Linked DNA regions of Homo sapiens: regions 1, 3, 4, 5 and 6 are each linked to region 2. Evidence: promoter capture Hi-C in 16 types of primary human blood cells and fetal thymus (Javierre and others, 2016). All regions are on one chromosome and are shown on one strand. The core of a region is centred on a gene start or on the middle of the fragment in contact, and the rest is flanking DNA. Distances in the headings are between cores, read along the strand shown.

Region 1 (3,534 bases), core at 707-3,206, 690 kb after region 2:
CTTTTTTTCCTCACACTGCTCTAAATCACCGGAACCACTTGTGCTTTCTACTTAGCCCAGTATGAGCTGTAATGTATTAACTTTGCTCTAAGTTGTTTCCTTTTTACAATTTTTTATTTAATTAATTAATTTATTTTTAGAGACAGCGTCTTACTCTGTCACGTAGGCTAGAGTACAATGGTGTGATCATAGCTCACTGCAGCCTCAAACTCCTGGGCTCAAGGGATCCTCCCCTGACACCTGTCTCAGCCTCTTAAATAGCTTAGACTACAGGTGTGCACCACCATGCCTAGCTTTTTTTTTTTTTTTTTTTTTTTTTTGGTAGAGATGGGGTCTTGCTGTGGTACTCAGGCTGTTCTCAAACACCTGCGCTCAGCTTCCCAAAGAACTGGGATTATAGGCATAAGCCATTGTGCTCAGTCTGGTGTTTCCTTTTTTTTTTTTTTTTTTTCTGTCAAGTACTGTTTTCCAAAAGTTATCTGTCTTTTGGCACCTCCCCAAACAATTGGCACTGTCATTTCCCTTTTAAGGATCCTCTCTCTAGGTGCCCTTAGGAATAAAGGTTGATTAAGACCTACAAGGGCATACTGGTGGCACAAATGAGTAAAATAGACTGGGCATAATGCAATAGGGGTGATGGAAACCATTGTAAAGAAACAGACCTGTACTCTGTTAATAGCTGTTATTTCTGTTTGAGCAATTATTGTCACATGAGAATTCTGTCTAATAGTGACAAATCTTTTTACTCTTCAACAGAAGGGAGAGCAAGACGGCCAAATAGAAGCCTCCAGCAATTATACACCCCCCCAGAGGAACAACAAATTAAGCAATACAAGAAAAGCACCTTCATGAAGTTGAAAACTGAGGTGAACAATCACAATACCTGGTTTTAACTTCACATCACTGGAAGAGGTACTGAAGAGGGTAGGAAAGACAGCTTCGAATCGCCTCCATCACTTCTCCCTTAACCCATTTGGCTCAGAGAGAATCTGTGCACTTTGGGGAGGGTGAATGCAGTAACTGTGCAATTTTACATATGACCTCAGTGTTGTCCTATCACAGTGGAAAGCAACAGAAGGCAGAACTCAGTTGGCACCCACGGAGGGAGCATTTAGGCCAGCCCTAGCCAGAGGAGAATCACTTATCCTGGCTGTTGGAACCTGAGTTCCAACAAGCTTCACCAGCACCACTGTTGGCTAAACTGCTGTGGGGTTCAAAATAAACTTGAAAGGCAGTCTAAGCCACAAGCACTGCAATTCCTGGGCAAATCTCAGTGCGGTGCTTGGCTCAGAGCCAGTGGACTTGGGGCACACATGACCAGATGGGGTGGCCAGGGGAAGGTCACCTCTCCTCCAACCCCAGGCAGCACAGGGAGAAACTTCTTCCTTCTGCTTGAGGAGAAGAGAGGGAAGAGTAAAGAGGACTTTGTCTTGGAACTTGGATATCCACTCAGCCATAGTAGAATGGGGCACCAGGCAGAGTCCTGAGGCCTCTTTTCTAGGCCCTAGCTCACAGATGACATTTCTAGACACACTCTGGGCTAGAAGGAAACCCGCTGTCTTGAAGGGAAGGACTCAGTCCTGGCAGAATTTATCACCTACTGATTAAGGAGCCCTTGGGTCCTGAATAATCAGCAGTAGCAACCAAGCAGTATTCACCTTGGGCCTTGGGTGAGACTCAGAGCCATGCTGGCTTCATGTGTGACCCAGCACATTCCCAGCTGTGGGCCTTACAAAAAGAGACTCCTTTTGCTTAAGGAAAGAAGAGGTAAGAAGAGTAAGGGGACTTGGTTTTGAAGCTTGGGTACCACCAGCTCTACTCAGCGGTGTAGAGCACCAAGTGGGCTCCTGGGGTTCCTGATTCCAGGCCTTGGCTCCTGGACAGCATTTCTCGATCCTTCCTGGGCCACAGAGGAGCCTATTTCCCTGAAAAGAGAATCCCAGGCCTGGTAACATGCACCACAAGCTGACTGAAGAGTCCTTGGGCCTTGAGTGAACATGGTGGTAGCCAGGTACTGTTTGTTGTGGGCCTGGGGCAGTGGTGACCATGGGGAGAGACTCATCTGCTTGAGAAAAGAGGAGGGAAGAGTGAGAAGGACTTTGTCTTAAAGCTTGGGTGCCAGCCCAGCAGTAGTAGAATAAAGCACCAAGTAGATCCCTAAGGTTCTTGACTCCAGGTCCTGGCTCCTGGATGACATCTCTGGACCCACACCCACCATGGGCCAAGGATAACTCACTGCATTGAAAGGAAGGACATGAGCTTGGCTAGATTTACCACCTGCTGGTTACAGAGCCCTTAGGCCTTGATGAACATAGGTGATAGCCAAGCAGTGGTAACTGCGGGCCTTGAGTGAGACCCCAGTGCTGGCTTTGGGTCTGACCCAGCACAATCCCAGTTGTGGTAGCCACAGGAGTGCTTCTGTCACTCCTCCCCTAGCTTCAAGTGGGGAGAGAGTGATGGGAGGAGACAGAGAGAGAGAGAGAGAGAGAGAGACTCTGTTTGGGAGAAAGTCAGGGAAGAGAACAAGGGTCTCTGCTGGATAATCCAGATAATTCTCTCAGGTCTCACTCAAGACATCAAGGAAGTACCTCTACAAGCCTGCAAGAGCCACAGCATCACTGGGCTTAGGGTGCCCCCTAATGCACATGCAACTGCAGTGACCAAAGACTTAGATCACAGTGCCCAAATCTCTTTGAAAAGGGACTCGGAAAGCCTTCCCAAGAAGGATGGGCACAAACAAGCTCAGACTGAGAAGACTATAATAAATACCTAACTCTTCAACATCCAGACACCCACAAACATCTACAAGCATCAAGACTACCCAGAAAATGGCTTCACCAAATGAATGAAATAAGCACCTGTGACCAGTACCAAAGACACAGAGATATGTGACCTTTCAGACAGAGAACTCAAAATAGCTGTTTTGAGGAGTCTCAACAAAATTTGAGATAACACAGAGAGAGAATTCAGAATCCTATCAGATGAAATTAATGAAGAGATTGAAATAATTTTAAAAAAAGAATCAAGCAGAAATTCTGGAGCTGAAAAATACAATTGACATACTAAAGAACACATCAGAGCCTCTTAACAGTAGACTTGATCAAGCAGAAGAATTAGTGAGCTTGAAGACAGGCTATTTGAAAATACACAACCAGAGAAGACAAAAGAAAAAAAAGAATAAAAAAGAATGAAGCATAAATGCAAGATCTAGAAAATAGTCTCAAAAGGGCAAACCTAAAAGTTATTGGCCTTAAAGAGGAAAGAGAGAGAGAGAAAGAGAGAGAGAGATACCAGGGTGGAAAGTATATTTAAAGAGAAAATAACAGAACTTCCCAAACCTAGGGAAAGATATCAATATTTAAGTACAAGAAGGTGATAGAACACCAAGCAGATATAATCCAAATGAGACTACCTCAAGACATTTAATAATCAAGCTCCCAAAGGTCAATGATAAAGAAAGCAGCAAGAGAAAAGAAATAAGTAACATGCAGAAGGAAAAAAAAAAAACCTTTTATCCTAAAGTAGCATACCCTG
Region 2 (3,466 bases), core at 240-2,739:
GAAATAAAATTCATCAAGTTTCTTGTACAGAATAGATGACTAATGAATGGGATGGGTCTGGAGCACCTGCCTGGGATGGAGCCACTGACTGACTATGAAGGAGCAGAGAGTTCTACGTGCTTCCTAAAAACGCCAGCTTCTAGCAACACCTATGCCAGGGGACATCAGCAAAAAAGTAAACCCAGGGGTGCCAAGAAGCACTTGAGACCAGAGTAAGGATGCCCTCCCCGTCACTGGCACACAGCTAACCATGGAAAAGGACTTCTCTATGACTGCCAGCCACCAAGGAAATTAGGGACACCAGAGGCAAGAAAATTATGTTCAGTTACAAAATACATTCCATTTTATAGCCATTTCTATTATCGGTTGCTACTATAATAAATTACCAAAACTTTAGCAGCTTAAAACACACACTATCATTTAGTTCTATGGGCCAGAAGTCCTATGGGTCTCATAGGACTAAAATCAACGTCTCGGCAGGACAGCGTTCCTTGGTGGCAGCTCTGGGGGTGCATCACTATCTTTGCTCATTCTGGTCTTGACAGTTCCGTGGGACTGTAAGACTGAGGTCCTTGCTGGTTGCTAACTGGGGCCACCCTGAACTCCTAGAAGACATTTGCTCTGTCCTTACATAGAGTCCCTACCTCTCAGAACCAGCCACAGGGCATGGAATCCTTCTCTCATGGCCCTCTCTTTGACTCCAATTCCCCTAGCTGCATTTCTGTCTCTGACTGCACCCAGGGAAGCCTGTCTGCTTTTTAGGATTAGATTAGGCCCATTCGGATAATCCAGGATAATCTCTTTATCTCAAGATCCTTAATGTTAACCACACTTGCAAAATCCTGTTTGCTATTAAGATAACATATTTACAGTTTCTAGGAATGAGAATGTAAACATCTTTGGGTTGGGGGAGTGGGCATCTTTCTGTCTATCAAACTATTCACCAGGCATTTATTTACTATCTTAATGGCCAAGTACAGTGCTATGTGCTGAATTGATGTTGGTATAAGGGGCATGGGGCAGGGGAGAAAGTCTAGGATGGGTGATGCCCCCCACTGGGATATCTGACTTAGAGCTTTGCAGTACTCCAGGGGATGCTGTTGACATAAAATACAATGTAGATTGTAACTCTCACCTCTCACTCCCTTAACCCTCTTGACTCCCCAGTCCTTGCCCCTGACTTATACAGGCTGGAGGTGTCTGAATAAGGTCATTCCAGTTCTCTGGGAGGCAGGAGCTAAGCTCACCAGGGGACTGAGATCCAGGTTCAGCCATAGCAGAAACTGAGAACCCTGCTAGATCCAGGTTCAGCCATAGCAGAAAAAAACAGAGCAAGGTGGGACTTACAGCCATCCAAACAGACGCCTGGAGACAGATGCTGCTCCTGCCCTTAGCCTTGCTTCCTGGCCTGGTTTCATGGTTCCTCCGGGGACTAGAGAGGGAAATGCCCAGGTCCTCTTGGGCCCCTTGTAGCTCCATATCAGAACAGAAAACCTGTCACTAACTGAAGTCCCTTCCGGCTGAGGTACCCCGGCCTATATTTTGCAGCTCCAGGGCTCATCAGAGCCACCAATTTGCTGATGGGTTCTCAACCACAAGGATGGTGAGTCAGCACAGTGGTTGACTCTCAGCAGAGAGGATGCAGCCTTCAGCAGAGCTCCTGGTGGGGCAGCCTCCTGATCAGCCTGTGCTGTGGTCCTGCCCCTGCATTTCTTCCAGTCCTGGACGTCCCTGGCCTGGCTGGCACCCTAGTCGCACACCCAAGAAGCAGTTCAGCTTGCTGAGCACAGTGTTTCCCAAAACTGTGGCATAAGAGGTGAAGGATAGACCAGGGAGGAAGTCTTCAGCCCAGTCTGACAAACACAGGCCAACGTTTGGCCAACAGCAACTCAGGCTCTTTGCTCTAGGCCAAACTTGAAACATTAGTGTGCTGGTAGGTGTTCTGCCTTCCCTCCCTCTGCTCTAGAATTCAGATCTGGAAGCCAGGTCCTGACAGCTGGGATCCAGATGCAGTCCCCATCACAGCATCACATTCTGGCCAACCAGGCTTCCAGTGGCAGGAGCTGCCACCAGGAATGGGCACCAGTCCTCTCTCAGTTAAAAAGCCTTTGCTTCACACCACAAAACCCAAAGTGCCAGCTGTGGTGACAACCACTGCTCCTACCACTTAAAATTTGCTGGCAAGGGAGACTTTTAGAGAATGATTCCCCCACAAATATAGCATTCCTTTTTTTAATCTTTCCTGTACCCCTCTTAGGGCTAAGTTACTGATGATAGCCCTGCGTGATACAGAGCAAGCTGGCAGCAAGGAGGAAAATTGTCAGCAGTGACAAGCTCCAGATGACAGTTATGTGGCTTGGAAGGCAAGTCTTACTCTAAAGAGATCCTGCCCCCATCCCAGCTCTGGATTACTTGGTCTGATAGGTTTTACAGGGTATGACCCCAGTTTTCTGTTTAAGGACATTGGCCTCCAGATATGACTAGGAGGGAGTTTTCCTCTAATATCTTTCCGCAAAGATCACCATGACAATGACCAGAATAATAAATATCTATAATCACATGCAATCTTTAGCTTTAGTAATAGAGTGTGACAGAGAACTCTGCTGCTGCTGCTGCTGCTGCTGCTGCTGCTGCTGATAGTGATGGCGATGATAAGGAAGACACAAGATAATCTGACCTTCCTCAGCCTCTGATGGCTGATTACAGGTAGATGTGGCTTCTGAAGCAAAGTTACATAATTCACCTCTTGTTCCTGATCCACTTTTAGCAAAACTTCCGTGGAAAGGACCTTGTACCTTCTTGAAGTATCCAACATGCTGTCATCTTTATGTTTTCCTACCAAGTTCCCACATTTCTGCCTCAGTGGGTTCTACAGTCTGAACCCCAGAAACAATTTCATAGTTCAAACATCTGGCATGCTATTACATCAAAGGGATTGCAGATTCCCAACCTGGAATGGAAGAATCCTTGACTCCCCGCACCCGCCCCCCAATTCTGCTCTACCTCAAAACTGCCTACATCATCTCAACCACCCAAGTTTTGGGAAACGGGTGAATTCCCTCTTCCTTTTCATTGAGACTAGCCCAGGTCATAGACCCAATCTCTTTACTGGGGACTTAGGCTAATAATTTCGAGTACACAAAATCAATAGCAAAAATAAAGTCCCACGTTGCAGAACATCCTCAACTGAGGAGAGAGCTCATTGGTTGAGAGTGTTTGTAGTATCATGCACTGCCCAGGAATGCAGAGAACACGTAGTTCTGTTAGCTCTTATTGATTGAGAGTGGAAGACAGCTCTTGGAATGTAGGGAAAAACTTCTACGGATGTCATGGAAATAAAGATTCATGTTTTTTAAATAATGGAATCACAATGAATCAGACCAGAGTGACATTAAACTGGATGTCCCTGTCCTTAAAGTTGAAGGTGAGATCCTTTCAGGCAAGCAGGCAATGCTGTCACTGGGAG
Region 3 (3,552 bases), core at 980-3,479, 910 kb before region 2:
CATTATTACTTTGAGCATGTTAGAATATCTGAAGTTGGAGTTTTACTAACCTCATTATTTATAATTATTAAAATAGCTTGCTGATCAATTTTATTCTAAAATACTAAATTGTCCATTATGTGCTTTCTACAAAAGTGTGCATCAAAACTGAATGCTGTGTCAGTTTTCTTGACAAAAAGCCCTTTGAAGACATAACTAATGAGGAGTTGCTGCGTGTTTGGCTGTTACATTTCTGTTCTACCTCCTTCTCAGGAAATAGATACACAAGAGTGTGATTCGGATTAGATTTCTGGAAGCAGACAGGAAGAAAATAAGAAAAGCCATTTATTGTTTTCTCTTTCAATAGCAAGTATTACTGATACGTAGTTGTCTTTTCCTTGATGTGCTGAGGTCTGTTCCAACTATTTCAATTGTGCTTCTAAAAGGCAGAGTCAGATAAGGCTTCAAAACTAAAACCAAACTCAGTGACCTTGAAGACCAATTTAAATGGTGGTATTGAAAAATAAGGATTTGCCTATCAGTTGTATTAAAAATTTTCAATGTGAAACACATTATCAATGTTTGTGCTTTAAGCTTCATGGTAACCAGTATTATTTGAATTTTTGAATACAAGGTTCAGTAAATTCAGCATTGTACTCACTAGTTACTGGGGTTTTACGGGACAAATAACTAGCACTCTTCTCTTCCCCACCCAGGTCAGAACCGACTGAGAGAGAGATAGATTCTGACAAATGGAGATCAAGGAGGTTCGCTTTATTGCTAATGAAATGTAGAGGATTGTCATGATCCGGGTGGGCAGCCAGACAGGCTTCCAATGCTATGCCTTTAAAATAAACGTACTCACCCAGTCACTGGCAGAGATGGAAAATCTCAGGCATCATCTGTGGAGACCTGTCCATGTAAAACCAATAGGGTGGAGGAGCGAAGCATGGAGCCTTGGGGAGCAGGGTCAGGTGGGAGCTGGGTGCTGACTCCTGAGGAGGCAGGGGCTGAGCTGAGCATGCCATTTCATCTCCCAAACTTAGCTTCCCACGGACAGTGTGGAGGGTGTGAAGTGAGGCCAGGATGCTTCCACTGCAAGTTCCTCCTTGTGGGAGCATGAGGAGAGTGGGGATTAAGTGTTGTCAGGTCACACTTAACCTCAGAGACAATCCTGAATGTACTGGCACTTCCGAAGCAAAAAGGATCAGGTCTGTGAGTTAGTCTAGTATTTAATCAAATTATCTAATACTGAGTTGCTTTCTAGGTAATCAAAGCAAAAGCCACCTATGCTTGTATAGTATTCTCCCTTCCTACTAAGCATTTGAGCTAATTATTAACAGAAATTCATAAAATAAAGATGAACATGGTATTAGCAAATAACAAACATAGTAAAATAGGGCAAAAACGGACACAAAATCAGTTGTGCAGTAAAAAATGGGGACAGAACTGCACTAATTCTTTAAGAAAAACAAAGTGGAATTTCTCGTTGGACCTGTTGAGTGAACAGTATTCTTGAAAAATTGTATAAGTTAGCAGGGAGGAAGGGATAGGGAGTTATTGGTTAAAGGATACAAAATTATAGCTTTATAGGAGGAATAAGTTCTAATAGTCTATAGCACTGTAGGGTGACTATAGTCAACAATAATATATATTTTCAGATAGCTAGAAGAGAAGGTTTTGAATGTTCTTAACACAGAGAATTGATAAATGAGGTGATGGGTATGCAATTTACCTGATTTGACCACTAGACATTGTATGTATTAAAATATCACTGTGTATCCCATAGATATGTACAATTGTGTGTCAGTTTAAAAGCCTATAGTAAATGCAACAAGAGTCATGTAAGTTTTGTTTTCTTTTTAAAATAATACCCCTAAATGAAAACTATAGTGGCCAACTGTCTTGGATTGCTCAGAAGTGTCCTGGTTTTACCATTGAATGTTCCATGTTCCAGGAAATCCTCAGTCTCTAGCAAACTGGAATGGTTGGTCACTCTAAATTGAAACTGTGAACATAAAACCAAAGAGCAGATTAGTTACTCAAAGGACCAAATTAAGGGAGTCCAAGTAAGTAGCAGAATCCCAAGCTAGAACCTAGATTAGCAGAGGGAGGGTGGCCTACCACCCACCAGTGGGAAGTGGCCTAGTGGTTAGGAACATGGGTTCTGGGTAGGGAAGACCTGGGTTTGAATCCTTGCTCTGCTGCTAGATGGAGATCTTAGGTAAGTTAGTTAATTTCTCTCTCTCTCCTCTACACCTTGGTTTCCTTGTCTATCATATAAGATGGCTTAATACCCTGTAGGGTTGTAATGAGGATCAAATGAGAACATTCAAATAAAATGATTAGCTCTGGGACTGGACTTGGTTGGCTTACATGGCGTTTAACATTGAACATTGTCAGGAGATTTTTCCATAAAAGGCTAGATTTCTGACATTTCTGACAAATCAGCAAGTTCTACCACCACCCACGGGAGCTGAGTAGCAGATGCTCCCCTTAGAAGGCATGTGTATTCTCCAAGAGGACACAGCCCCCACCTAGCCCTCTCTACTTCATGGGCTTGGTCCTTTGGAGACATTGAATTTCCATTCCATGTTGTAAGTCTCCTCTGCTTGTAGTGCAATCCAACCACTGGGAGCTTGTTAGAGATGCAGGGCCCCTAAGGGCCCACCCACAACCTAAGGCATGAGAATTTTCATTTTAATAAGATCCCTGGTGATACTTCCCGGCAATAAAGTTTGAGAAGCCCTGTTACAAACTGCAGAGCATTATTCCTAACCACAGTGAGTATCAAGATCATCTGGGGAGTTTTTTGCTTGTTTGTTTTCTAGCTGTGTCCAAGGACCTATCCAGACTTGCTGAAATCAGAGTTCCTGGGATGGAATGTCCAGGCTGCTAAATTAATGCTAGGGACAGGATTTCACTGTGAACACTTGAGAACTATAGATTTCAGTTTAGATGAAAGAAAGCTAAGTATGTTATCTTATTGGGATCCTCAGATAAAAAAAAAGTTCTACTAATAATGACGACTATATAATCTGAATATACTTGAGGCTGAAATTTTGCCCATTGATTGTAACTTGCTGGATGAGGCCTGGTTGCCGGCAGATTGACTTTTGGTAAGGGTGTTGCAGTGGTTTGAAGTGGGTGTGTGTTGGTATATGTCCTTAGTCATACCACCTGAACAGTTTCAAGGGAACTAGATTGTTTGAGAAAATTTTCTTTGTTATAGTATAGTCTTACTGGTTTGCAGGAGAGCGGTGAGATTCTAGAAACAGTGACCCTATTAGCTGATCTTTTCCATTAAAAATATTTTGGATTGCTCTTAGGGAAGTCCTTAACTCATCATTGCCTTAATAGTTTTCTGTTTGTCTCAAACAGGGTGTGCCTTCAGACCTCATAGTTACTATTTGTTAAATTACTTTTCCAAGGCTACACGTTGCTTCTTCAATGCCCTTAGTGACTTAACCTCCCTTTGTCTAGTCAAACCAATGCTCTTCCAGAGTTTATTTGGTCAAAATATCAGAGATGCCATATTAGAAATTTCTAATGTGAATTCATTTTTTAATATAA
Region 4 (3,489 bases), core at 845-3,344, 930 kb before region 2:
TTTCATAATTTGGATCATAGCACAACTTGGAACTTCTTATTCACAATATAGTATCCTTATTCTCAGCAGTAGCATGATTTCACGTTCAGATTGGCAAATGTAAAAGGACAGTTCACTGAGCAAATATATTAATATGGAGCTTCATGTTTATGTAATGACGTTGGGCTTTGTGTGCTCTACAGAATGTACAGGGGTAATTAGATATTTCAGATACGTGTCTAGACAGGGCAGAGCTTCAGGAGCACTTGCTCAACCCTGGGAAATGCTACAAGTCACCCATTTGTGACCAGAAAAAGCTCTCTGTGATTAACAAGTTAAATGTGGAGTTAACTGTATGGCACTAGATTTATACCCAAGAGGAAAATCAGATCTGATGAAATTTGTCAGGACTGACCATTTGTCGAACCAGACTAGGCCTAACTTTGCCCAGTGTGGCCTGATTTGAGGGTGCTCAAAGTGATATCTTTCAAATATCTTTCTATCATCCAGCTATGGGGCTTGGATTCTATTCTTAGAATCACCTCTTCAGGTTAAGTCATTCTGATTCAACGAGGCTCCTATAAAATGTGAGTTTGTTCCTTGAGAGAGTTGTACATTGACCTAGATTGCTTAGACTCAGGGACAGTAGTGAGGAAGCACACCTCAGGATTTGATGTGAGGGCAACAGGAAATGAGTAAACATTTGAAATAGAGTTTGCTTCCTGAGGAGGGTGTGCGCAGGCAGAGAGGGCTGAGGGGCAGCCTGAGGAGTAAGAGAAAAACTGACTAATGGGGCACGTGCCCCTGTGCGTGGAACATGGGATGAACCTGGCTTAGCTTCAGCCCTGCGCTTGAAGAGACTCACCTGGTGCCCTGACTGGGATTATTTTAACCAAATGTAAAAGTATCTAGAAGCCAGCCCCTTTCTGGTTACTTTGTGGTTACTGCATACAGTACTTTCTGATGCTGAAGACTTAATAGTGTCAGCCTTGAAGTGTAAACCTTCCGAGGGCGATGATAGATGATAGAGAATCACATGCCAATCTTTACCTCTTGGGTGCCCTCTCCCAGCATCTCATGGCCTCTGTAGCACCCCCTCCCCAGCGCCAGGAATCTACAAGAGTACACATGACAGCTTACTCATTGTGAATTGCTAGTTGTGAGATCGTCCATAAAGCTCCATTCCTGGTATCCAAGAGAGATCTTCAAAAGTAGGGGCCAGTTGAACTTGGAAAGTACAGGCTTCAGTGTACAGCTTCCAAGAGAGGCCATCTGGCTGCTGCTGCTGCTGCCAGCTTCCAGACGGAAGCTGAGATTTGCTATTGATGTTCCAGCATTGATTGAGCTCCTGCCTCGTCTGCATCAGGCATGGTCCTCGCAGCTTCACGCAGGTATTTCATGCTATTGCAAATTGTTGCTTGTTAGTATTCCTCCCAACTAGTTGTTTGGAGTCAGCTAGTTGTTAGTATTTTTACTCTACTGACTAGAAATCTGAGACTTTGAAAGGTTAAGTGATTTGCCCAATACCAAACAGCTGGGGAATGAGAGAGCCGGAATCTAAAGTTAGAAATGTCAGCCTCCCCCTGCTAACTTCTGCTGTTGGTAAGGGTATTTCCTCTCCCTCTGGGGCTTTCTATTGCTTTCAGAGAGAGAGTTTGCAAGCTGAAGGAACACTTAACTTGAGAGGCTTTCCCAAATGGAGTATAAAATGCCACGAGGAAATAACTTAAAGATAGGGTGCTGGAGATGCGTCTAAGATGTGAAGGAATGTCACACATGTGCATGGCTCACCTCGCACCTCATTTTGATTCCTCAGTGGCTTTTAGGGTCTTCTCCTGCCTCACTCCTTTTAGCCCCCTGGCCTGGTCTTACACTCTGCCCATCCAGAATGAAAGCAGGCCTCCTACGTCTTCGCAGTGGACATGCATTGGCACTGAACAACATGCCGTGACCTCTTTTATACCTCATGCTTGTCATTCTTTCTGTTTATCTCGACACTCCAACCTAAGCTGTGACCTTGGCTTTCTCTCCCTGGCTCCAATTCATATTCTCCCTCTAGTGGTGCTGCCTCTGGCTGCCCTAGGTAAATCCTAGGCCTCCAAAGGATTTTCTCCTTTGACTCTTGCCTTCTTGGACAGTACTCTGCTGCTCTCGTCCCAGATATGCCAGTAGAAACCACCTATTAATCCATGAGCCCCAAGGATCCTGAAGCATCACTTTGCCTCCTATCTCCTATGGCGTTGACAGTGTTGGCCATAACCCTGCAGTACCTGCACCCAGCCAGTGCCAGCATGTGAGCCTTGTTGACAGTCTGCAGAGGCTGGTTGGAGCTGCTAACCCTGTGCTTCCAGGCCCACGCTGTTTGGTTTGGTTCGAGTTGCCCTTCAGAGCCCTGCCCAGCCCTGACTTGGAAGCTGTTGCTTATTGTGTCTTAGTGTGGAGCAGTGGGGCCTGAGGCAAAAGTATATTGCTGCTGCTTCATTAGTGAAAGCATCACCAGAGAAACAGAAGTGGGGAACAAGAGAAGTGAAGCAAAGAAAGAGAGTAAATATAAGAGCTGTATCATTGACCTGACTACTGCTTGCTAGCAAGTACAGCTGATTGATCTTGTGGGACATATGCAGAGAGATGCCATGTGGGTGACTTGTGGGACACATGCAGAGAGATGCCATGTGGGTGACTTGTGGGACATATGCAGAGAGATACCATGTGGGTGACTTGTGGGACATATGCAGAGAGCTGCCATGTGGGTGACTGCACTTCAGGGAGTCTTTCTGGGGGAAAGTAACTCCTTCACTGCCTTCCCTCTCCCCTTGGTCAAAGTCTGCCCCAAGGGGCATGAATTCTCTTGCACTTCTGGTTTGTACAAGCCTAGAAGTGGCCAGCTGATCATCCCACACCTTATTAGCAACTCACACCTCATCAGCAATAGACAAGAAATCCTGGGAAGGAGCCAAGAGGGGCTTGCTGTACCCATGGGTGACTTGAGGGGCCATGGCAGTGGCATCAGAAGTGACATCCAGGTCTACACCTGTGAGAGCAGCACAGGCCATGTTAGATCTGCTCAGCCTGGCAGCAGGCAAGTGCTCAGCCCGGCAGCAGGCAAGTGCACAGGTCTGGATGATGGGTAATCTGAATCCAGTCACGTTGAGCAGTGTAATGTCAGTGCAGCCTGGCCGTTTGACTTGTGTATGCTGCTGGGAAACTTCTTGGGCATGTAAGGAAATACTCAGTTTTCTTTTCCAGTTCCCAGGGTTGAGCATCTTTTTGAGGGGTCTCTCTTATATGGGTGGGGCCTAGCTGAGTGTTCTCTGTGATTGGGGTGAGGGGGGAAGGGTCCAGATAGTGCTACACTAGTGAGATGCTTCTCACAATAAGAGGCAGAGGAGCTGCTGGTGATCGTGGCACTGATCAAGTATTAAGGGCTCATGTCTCTGGAAAGCAGAAGTCCTGGTACCTGAAGCCTTGTCTAACTGTATTCATCCATTTTCACACTGCTGTAAAAATACT
Region 5 (3,616 bases), core at 238-2,737, 710 kb after region 2:
TTATACTTCCTGATTTCAAAACTTACTAAAAAGCCACAGTCATCAAACCAGAGTGGTGCTGGCATAAAGACAGACACATTGGCCAATGGAACAGAATAGAGAGCCCAAAAATAAATCCTCACATATATAGTCAAATGAGTTTTGATAAGTGTGCCAAGACAATTCACTGGGGGAAAGGTTAGTATTTTCACCATACAGTCCTGGGTAAACTGTATGACCACATTGCAAAAGAATCAATTTTGACCTTTACATAACATCGTATGCAAAAATTAACTCAAAATGGATCAAAAGCCTAAACATAAAATATGACACAGGACAAAGTCTTTATAACACTAGATTTGGCAATTTTTTAGATATAGCACCAAAGGCCTAAGCAACAAAACAAAAACAACAACAAATTGATCTTCATAAAAATTAAAAACTTTTGGCCTCAAAAGACTTAATTGACAGAGTAAAAAGGCAACCCACAAAATGAGAGAAAATATTTGCAAAGTATATGTCTGATAAGGGATTAATATACAGAATATAGAGATAACTCAATAATAACAACTTAATTAAAAATAGGTGAATGACTTGAATAGACATTGCTTCAAAGACGATATAAACAAATGGTCAGTAAGCACATGAAAGGATGCTCAACATCACTAATTATTAGAAAAGTGAAAATAAAAAACATGGTGAGATATCACCTTACACACATTAGGATGACTACTATCAAAAATACAAAAAATGTATGTTGATGAAGGTGTGGAGATATTGGAACTTTTGTGCACTATTGGTCAAAATGTAAAGTGGGGCAGCTACTGTATGGAAAACAGTATGGTGGTTCCTTAAAAAATTCAAAATAGAATTATCATGTGTTTCAACAATTCTCCTTCTGGATATACAGCCAGAATTGAAAGGAAAATCTTGAAGAGATATCTGTACCCCGATGTTCATAGCAGCATTATTCACCATAGCTAAAATGTGGAAGCAACATAAGTGTCCATTAACAGATGAATTATTCAGTCTTAAAAAGAAAGGGAATCTTGTATGCTGCAACATGGATGAAACTTGAAGACATATAAAGTGAAATAAACCAGTCATGAAAAGACCAATACTGTGTAATTCCATTTATATGAGGTACCTAAAGTAGTCAAATTCATAGAAAGTAAATTGGTGTTTTTCAGGGACTGGGAGAAAGAGAAATGGGGAGATATTGTTTAATGGGTACAGAGTATCAGTTTTGCAAGATAAAAAGACCTCTGGAGATGGATGGCAGTGATGGTTACACAAAAGTGTGAATGTACTTAATGCTGCTGAACTGTACACTTAAAAATTATTAAGATGAAAAATTTCGTATGTATTTTTTACCACAATAAAAATGCTTGATTTAAACACACACACACACACACACACACACACACACACACACACACACCATCCCTTACCCCCCTTGGCTCTTTTTTCGCTTCCATCAGAAAGAGTTTTATTCAGTTATATTTCAAATTTGAAAATACTTTTATTGGGGTTTTTCTTTATGGCTTCTAAGCAGAAGCTGAGTAATCACTAGGCTGGTCAGTATGTACATTTCTACATTCATTTAATTTCTATTTGTTGAATGTTCACTATGTGCAAGCCTCTCTTTAAAAATATATTTGAGAGATTGAACTAACTGCCCTTCAAAATCTCTTATAAACCCAAGTTTCTATGATTCTGTGTGTTCTGCCTTCTAGTACTAGTTATCTGTGTAACCCAACTTCTCTAGAACTCAATTGTCTCAGTTGTTTTTTTCTAGTTCCAAAATTCTACAGATTTTCAAAGCATAAGGATGATAATGGCACATTACTTCCTTCACTGGACCATTTATTTCTTGAGTGGAAAGGTTCCAACCAAGATATTAACTCCACAGAGAATAGAGTACAAGTTAATTTTAAAAAAAAAGCTGATATGAAAGAAAAGCTAATATGAATTAGTGAGAAATTGAGTTTCAGAATCTTTTAAAATAAATACACTCTCAAGAACATAACTTGATTTTAGAAAAGATAACAGAGTGTTTTCAATTAACAGGAATGACCAAGGCAAAACGTCCATCTACTTGCATCAGAATGGAGATGCAGATGCAGATAATGAATTAAAGGGACTCAAAGAAGGTCACTATTCTGCCTTGAATTTGTTTTCATGGTTCTCTGAGAAGTGTCTAGAGGTGAGAAAGTCAATTTAACTGATTATTTTCTAAAAATAGAATAAACAGAAAATTTTGTTTAAAAAATATTTTCTTAGCATAGTTAAGTACAACATTTTCTATAGCTATCCACAGTACTTTAAGAAATTTACAATGTACTGCTAGAAATTTGAGTGAAACTTAGGAATTTTATGTGCTTTGGATGAAAGATGACAGCAAAAAATTATACAATTTTAGTTCATTTGCATTAAAATATTCTTACAGCAGAGCATGGAATCCAATAAAACAACCCAGGGAAAATCATTCTAATTTTAGGAGAAAAATTAACACCTACCTACCCTACAACCTCACAATTAAAATCTGGTGGAATTCTATAACCTTCCACATGGTTTGCCTCTTGTGTGGTGGGAAAGTGAGAGGGAGCTTTTATTGACTTCTTTGAGAGAATGAAGAGGAAAGAAGACAACACTGTTGAAGAATCTTCTATAATCTAGATGTCAGAAGAAGCCACCCACTCTTTGATTCTAAGATTGCCTTGCTCCATCCCCCATTCTATGTTCTGTTCTGTTGTTTTTTTTTTTTCCCTGAACATTTCTACAAATACTTTCTTCTAGTATTTGTGGAATACTTCATTCTATAACTAATGGCTATTTGTTTATCTCCAATCCAGCATTGACCTAAAGTTCAGACATGACTCTTTCTTTCTTCCAAAATTCACTTGTAAGAGTAGTTTAGTCCATTTCTCCTGCTATAACAAAATACCATAGACAGGGTGAGTTATAAACAACAGAAATGTCTCACAGTTCTGAAGGGTGGGAAGTCCAAGATCAATGTGCTGGCAGATTTGATGTCTGGTGAGAGCTGCTTTCTGCTTCCAAGAGGGCAGCTTGTTGCTGTGTCCTCACAAGGTGGAAGAGTGGAAAGGCAAAAAAAAAAAAAAAAAAAAAAAAAAAAAGACAAATGTTCTCTGCAGCCTCTTTTTTAAGGACATTAATCACCTCCCAAAGGCCCTGCCTTGTAACTCCATTGCCTTGGTGATAGGTTTCAATATTTGAAGTTTGAAAGTACACATGCATTCAAACCATAACAACCAGTCAACAAGAAGCAACTTGCACAAGCAAATATCTACAACTATGTGTGGCAGATTTTACTGGATATTGAGGTAATCATGTACTCATGTTGCAGCGCTGTTTAGAAAATATTCTAACATTGAATATTAGCTTTTCTGGTCCTCTGAAAGTCCCTTCTCCATTTCCACCAACTTAGATTTCAGAGTCTCATGACATTGTTCAGCTTTCTCTCCTACTGCTTCTCTGTCTCCCAGTTGTGATAAAAAAAAATCCTTATATTATTATGAAGAGCATTTTAGCTCTAGCACTTACCACCTCCTCCCTCATTCACACTTTGCACAGCTTAAGATTTATTAATGTGCTTTGCTAAAAAAAGCTTCAT
Region 6 (3,412 bases), core at 634-3,133, 730 kb before region 2:
TTAATTATAGTACTGAAGACAGCTGCACTGGCAAAGTGCAGGGTGTGATGAGAGTGGGTAATGGGGCAACCTGCCCTAGCCGCAGGGGCTGGGGAAAGCTTTCCTGAGGAAGTGGCTGTTAGCAAAAGACTGGGAGAGGGAATAAAAGTTGGCCCGGGAAGAGGAAGTAGAGAGGAAGGACAGAAAATGGTCCAGGCAGAGGCAACAGGACAAGAAAAGGCCCTGGGGCCTTTGAAACCCAGTTCCACTCTTGATCTGCAAACCTTTTTAGGGATACTACAAACTAGTCCCCTTACACTTTTCAAACAAAGAGAGTTCACAGTGCTTTCAGTTGCCCACTTTTATATGCTATCAACAAATTCCTAGCTCCCCCCATTTTCTCCATTTCCTCTGTCCTCAGTCTTCCCCCCACAGTGTTCAGTTACACAAAAGGGCCTACGTGTTTACCAGCCTCTTTCATGACCCTGATCAACAAGCTTTGGTGGAAGACATCTGCGTCTAGACAAAAGATTGGTTAGTCTTTGTGAAAGTAAATGTTCCACGTCTGACTCAACCTGACCAAGAGCCAAGAAAAGGATGATAAGGCTGATGGAAAAGATTTTCTTAATGAATGGCAGTAAAAAACAGCCCAAAGGTGAAGGCAAGAAACAGCCTTGGTGTTTCCTGGGGCTCCTGGCCCCAGACAGGCTCTTGAAAGCACTCAAGGATAAGAGGTAGGAAGGTTATTTCATTTCCTCTCTGCCTCTTTCTATTTTAACACTTTCCTCCCTCTCACGCTAATCTCTATTCCCCACACCTCATGCTCAAAACAGTCACCCTTTAGGTTTTGGGGGGTAAGTATTACCCCTTTCAAGTGGGTTAAAATGTCTGGAATGGAGATTATTAAAGCTAACTTTCCTGGTTATACCTTTTTTTTTTTTTTTTTTAAACTCTTTCAACTTCAGTATCTTGGAAAGTTGAGCCTATCATATCACCAGGAGGATTGAGAGTTTAAACAACAATTACAAATTACGTGGAAAGTTGGAAAAAGAAGAGAGTTCCCTCTATTCTTCCCTGGCATCTCTGGGTGGCTGTTGTCCATGCTGGAGGAGTTGTCACCTTATGTGCCCTTGAGGGACCTCCCCTCAGGAATCAGCAGTGGGATAACCTTGCAGGTGTTTTTTGTTTTTTCCCAGAAATAAGAGACGTAAGCAAGGTTTAAATTCATAGCCAAGTAACATAATTTGCTGTCAAATTTAATGAGAAAAATTTAAAAATTAAAGCCACATCTAATTTTTAAAATACATGATTATGTACTGAGCTCTTTCAACACAGAATCTTACATAGGTCTTCTTTCCTTTTACAATGATCCTTGTAAGGTAAGTCACACAACTGTTTATTTTACAGAAAGGAATCTGAGGCTCAAAGAAATTAAGTCTCTGGCTCAAGATCATAACTAGTAAGTGGCAGAACCGGGATTTGACAGGTGTTTTGATTTTAGGTCCAATGATCTCTTTGTTACACTCACTTCCTCACCTGTGGGCTGTGAGGGACTTTGTTGCTTAAATAAGCTAGGGCTCCAAGAACCCAAGCTTCTAGGATAAATAATAACCCAACCAATGCAGGGTGTCCACTATGATTCACCGTGGCGTCCTTACGTATTTTGGAAGACAGCAGTATTTGAAGGATAAGATTTTTTTTTTTCCTCTAGGATCCTCTAGGAAGGCAACTCAGGTCCTATAAAGAAGCTGCTGATTTTCACCCAGTGGCTGGGAATTTGATGGGTCCCCCTAAGATCTGCAAAGGGATGAAACTGGAACTTATTCTCCAGTTCTATGTCTAGGGTGGGTGGAGATCGATATTTTGGGAGAAAAATGGGAGCATAATGTAGAGGAGAGCCCCTGAAGGTTTGGGTTCCTTGTGCTGAGACCTAACATCCTACAACATCTCCTTTGCAACTGGGAGTGCTTTGGAATGTTTAAAAACACGTGCTTGAGTTGAGCAGTGGAGGCTCAGAGGACACTCTTGCATGAGGTGGAAAGGCTCAAAGTCCTGGCCTTCCTTCTCCTTGTCTCTTGACCTTGCTTCAGGGGGAGAGATGGTGAAGTGGAATGATAATGGATCTTGGGCATCAGACCCAGGTTCAAATTTGTGTTCTACTATTTTTAGGCTGTGTAGTCTGGACTTCAGTTTTCCTATTTGTCAAGTGAAGCTTAATAGTACCTCCTAAGAGGATTTCCCTGGGGATTGCATGAGCGAATAAGGGTTCCACATACTCTATGTCAGAGCCAGTGCTCAAACGTTGGTCCTCACATCCTGCACAGAGGACCTCTTCATATGTGATTATTTGTTTTATTTTACTGTCATTTATTATTTGTTTATCGTGTGCTCCCCCATTAGAATGTAAGCCCTAGAAGGAGTTATATAATATTGTTTGTTGAATAAATGATATTACTTTGAATACATAATACTCTAAGAAGTTCCAGGCACTGTAACAGTTCCAGCAACAGTTCCAGGCACTGTTCCAGTGCCCAGAACATGGTAGATTTGAATAAATAATATTACTGCAATACATGCATATGTCAATGTTAAAGTGGAGAGATAGAAGCACTCAGGAAGCATAAAGAAAATTCAGCCTCTTAAAATCTGGGACACCTTGAAACCATGAGTGGCTCAGAAAGAGCCAGCAGTCTCTGGCTATTGCTGGCTTTGCTGGGCTGCCCCCCTAGAGGCGTGAGGTTAGGATATTGTGTAACGACAAATGACACAGAGGGGACTGTCTGTTCTGGCTTCTTATCTAGAAGCCCTGCACCTCTATAACCCCAGGGCTGTTCTTGGAGCTGTGGCTCAGAGAGTCAGGCTGACAGCACAAGGACAGGGAAAAAGGTCCTATTCTGACATTCAGAGGATCTGTCTTTTCTCTCCTGGGTCTCCAGGACCCTATCCTTCTGAGCTAGATGCACCTACGTTTTGAAAATGAAGATGGGTAGCTGTGCTGAAGCTCTTGTCAGCATGCAATTGAGATACTCTTTGGCCAAAGCAGAAATTGGTTGGAATTCTGGCATCCTTGGCTTAGAAAAGAGCCTGAGCAGGTAGATTTTTCTGCTTGTGTTAGCTTATGAGAAAGCCCAGAGTCTCTGCATGAGCTTCTAAAATGCCTAATACTTCTTACACAATTCAAGTTGGACGGCAAGTGTCAGTGATGCAGCACCTTCAGACAGCATTTCCCAGAAAGTATGCTACAGATACCATGTCTTTGTCAAAGGCGGCGGCACGTGTGCAGCTGTGATGACAAATGCAGCGGGTGTTGCTAGTTGCGGAAACACAGCTAGGGGTTTGGTTAACCACAGGAAAGCTGGGGTGAGGGGCAGTCCCTCCGTTCTTGTATTCTCTCCCTAGATGATTCAGGGTGGTCCCTAGTTCAGCCTCAGAC

The links. Contacts are between HindIII fragments. The CHiCAGO score rates a contact against its expected background, and 5 or more counts as called.
Region 1: a contact is called between a fragment that was not itself captured here and the fragment with the promoter of LINC02694 in region 2, in 4 of 17 cell types (M0 macrophages, M2 macrophages, M1 macrophages and 1 more). The highest score is 10.8, in M0 macrophages.
Region 3: a fragment that was not itself captured here is called in contact with the fragment with the promoter of LINC02694 in region 2 in 1 of 17 cell types (naive CD8 T cells); the score reaches 7.3 in naive CD8 T cells.
Region 4: a fragment that was not itself captured here is called in contact with the fragment with the promoter of LINC02694 in region 2 in 1 of 17 cell types (total CD8 T cells); the score reaches 5.7 in total CD8 T cells.
Region 5: a contact is called between a fragment that was not itself captured here and the fragment with the promoter of LINC02694 in region 2, in 4 of 17 cell types (M2 macrophages, M0 macrophages, M1 macrophages and 1 more). The highest score is 11.6, in M2 macrophages.
Region 6: a fragment that was not itself captured here is called in contact with the fragment with the promoter of LINC02694 in region 2 in 1 of 17 cell types (fetal thymus); the score reaches 6.4 in fetal thymus.

What each region holds. Positions count from the first base shown.
Region 1 is chr15:38,002,182-38,005,715 of GRCh38, reverse strand. It overlaps a transcript of TMCO5A not described here. Among named protein-coding and RNA genes, the nearest start is that of LINC02345, 36 kb to the left of the region's middle. The HindIII fragment of the contact is 312 bases long and covers 1,801-2,112 here.
Region 2 is chr15:38,694,621-38,698,086 of GRCh38, reverse strand. It overlaps LINC02694 (long intergenic non-protein coding RNA 2694), which reads right to left and starts at 1,489. Exons shown (of 2, transcript NR_160786.1): 1 at 1,348-1,489. RefSeq lists an enhancer at 1,330-1,379. The HindIII fragment of the contact is 8,690 bases long and covers 1-3,466 here.
Region 3 is chr15:39,604,581-39,608,132 of GRCh38, reverse strand. All of the region lies in intron 11 of FSIP1 (fibrous sheath interacting protein 1), which reads left to right. Among named protein-coding and RNA genes, the nearest start is that of THBS1-IT1, 20 kb to the right of the region's middle. The HindIII fragment of the contact is 3,307 bases long and covers 576-3,552 here.
Region 4 is chr15:39,626,798-39,630,286 of GRCh38, reverse strand. The region is part of intron 10 of FSIP1 (fibrous sheath interacting protein 1); the gene reads left to right. It overlaps LOC105370785 (a long non-coding RNA gene), which reads right to left and starts at 1,859. Exons shown (of 3, transcript XR_932156.3): 1 at 1,771-1,859; 2 at 1,120-1,380. The HindIII fragment of the contact is 5,882 bases long and covers 1-3,489 here.
Region 5 is chr15:37,984,185-37,987,800 of GRCh38, reverse strand. It overlaps a transcript of TMCO5A not described here. Among named protein-coding and RNA genes, the nearest start is that of TMCO5A, 51 kb to the right of the region's middle. The HindIII fragment of the contact is 4,251 bases long and covers 1-3,612 here.
Region 6 is chr15:39,427,255-39,430,666 of GRCh38, reverse strand. No RefSeq gene overlaps it. Among named protein-coding and RNA genes, the nearest start is that of THBS1, 150 kb to the left of the region's middle. The HindIII fragment of the contact is 620 bases long and covers 1,574-2,193 here.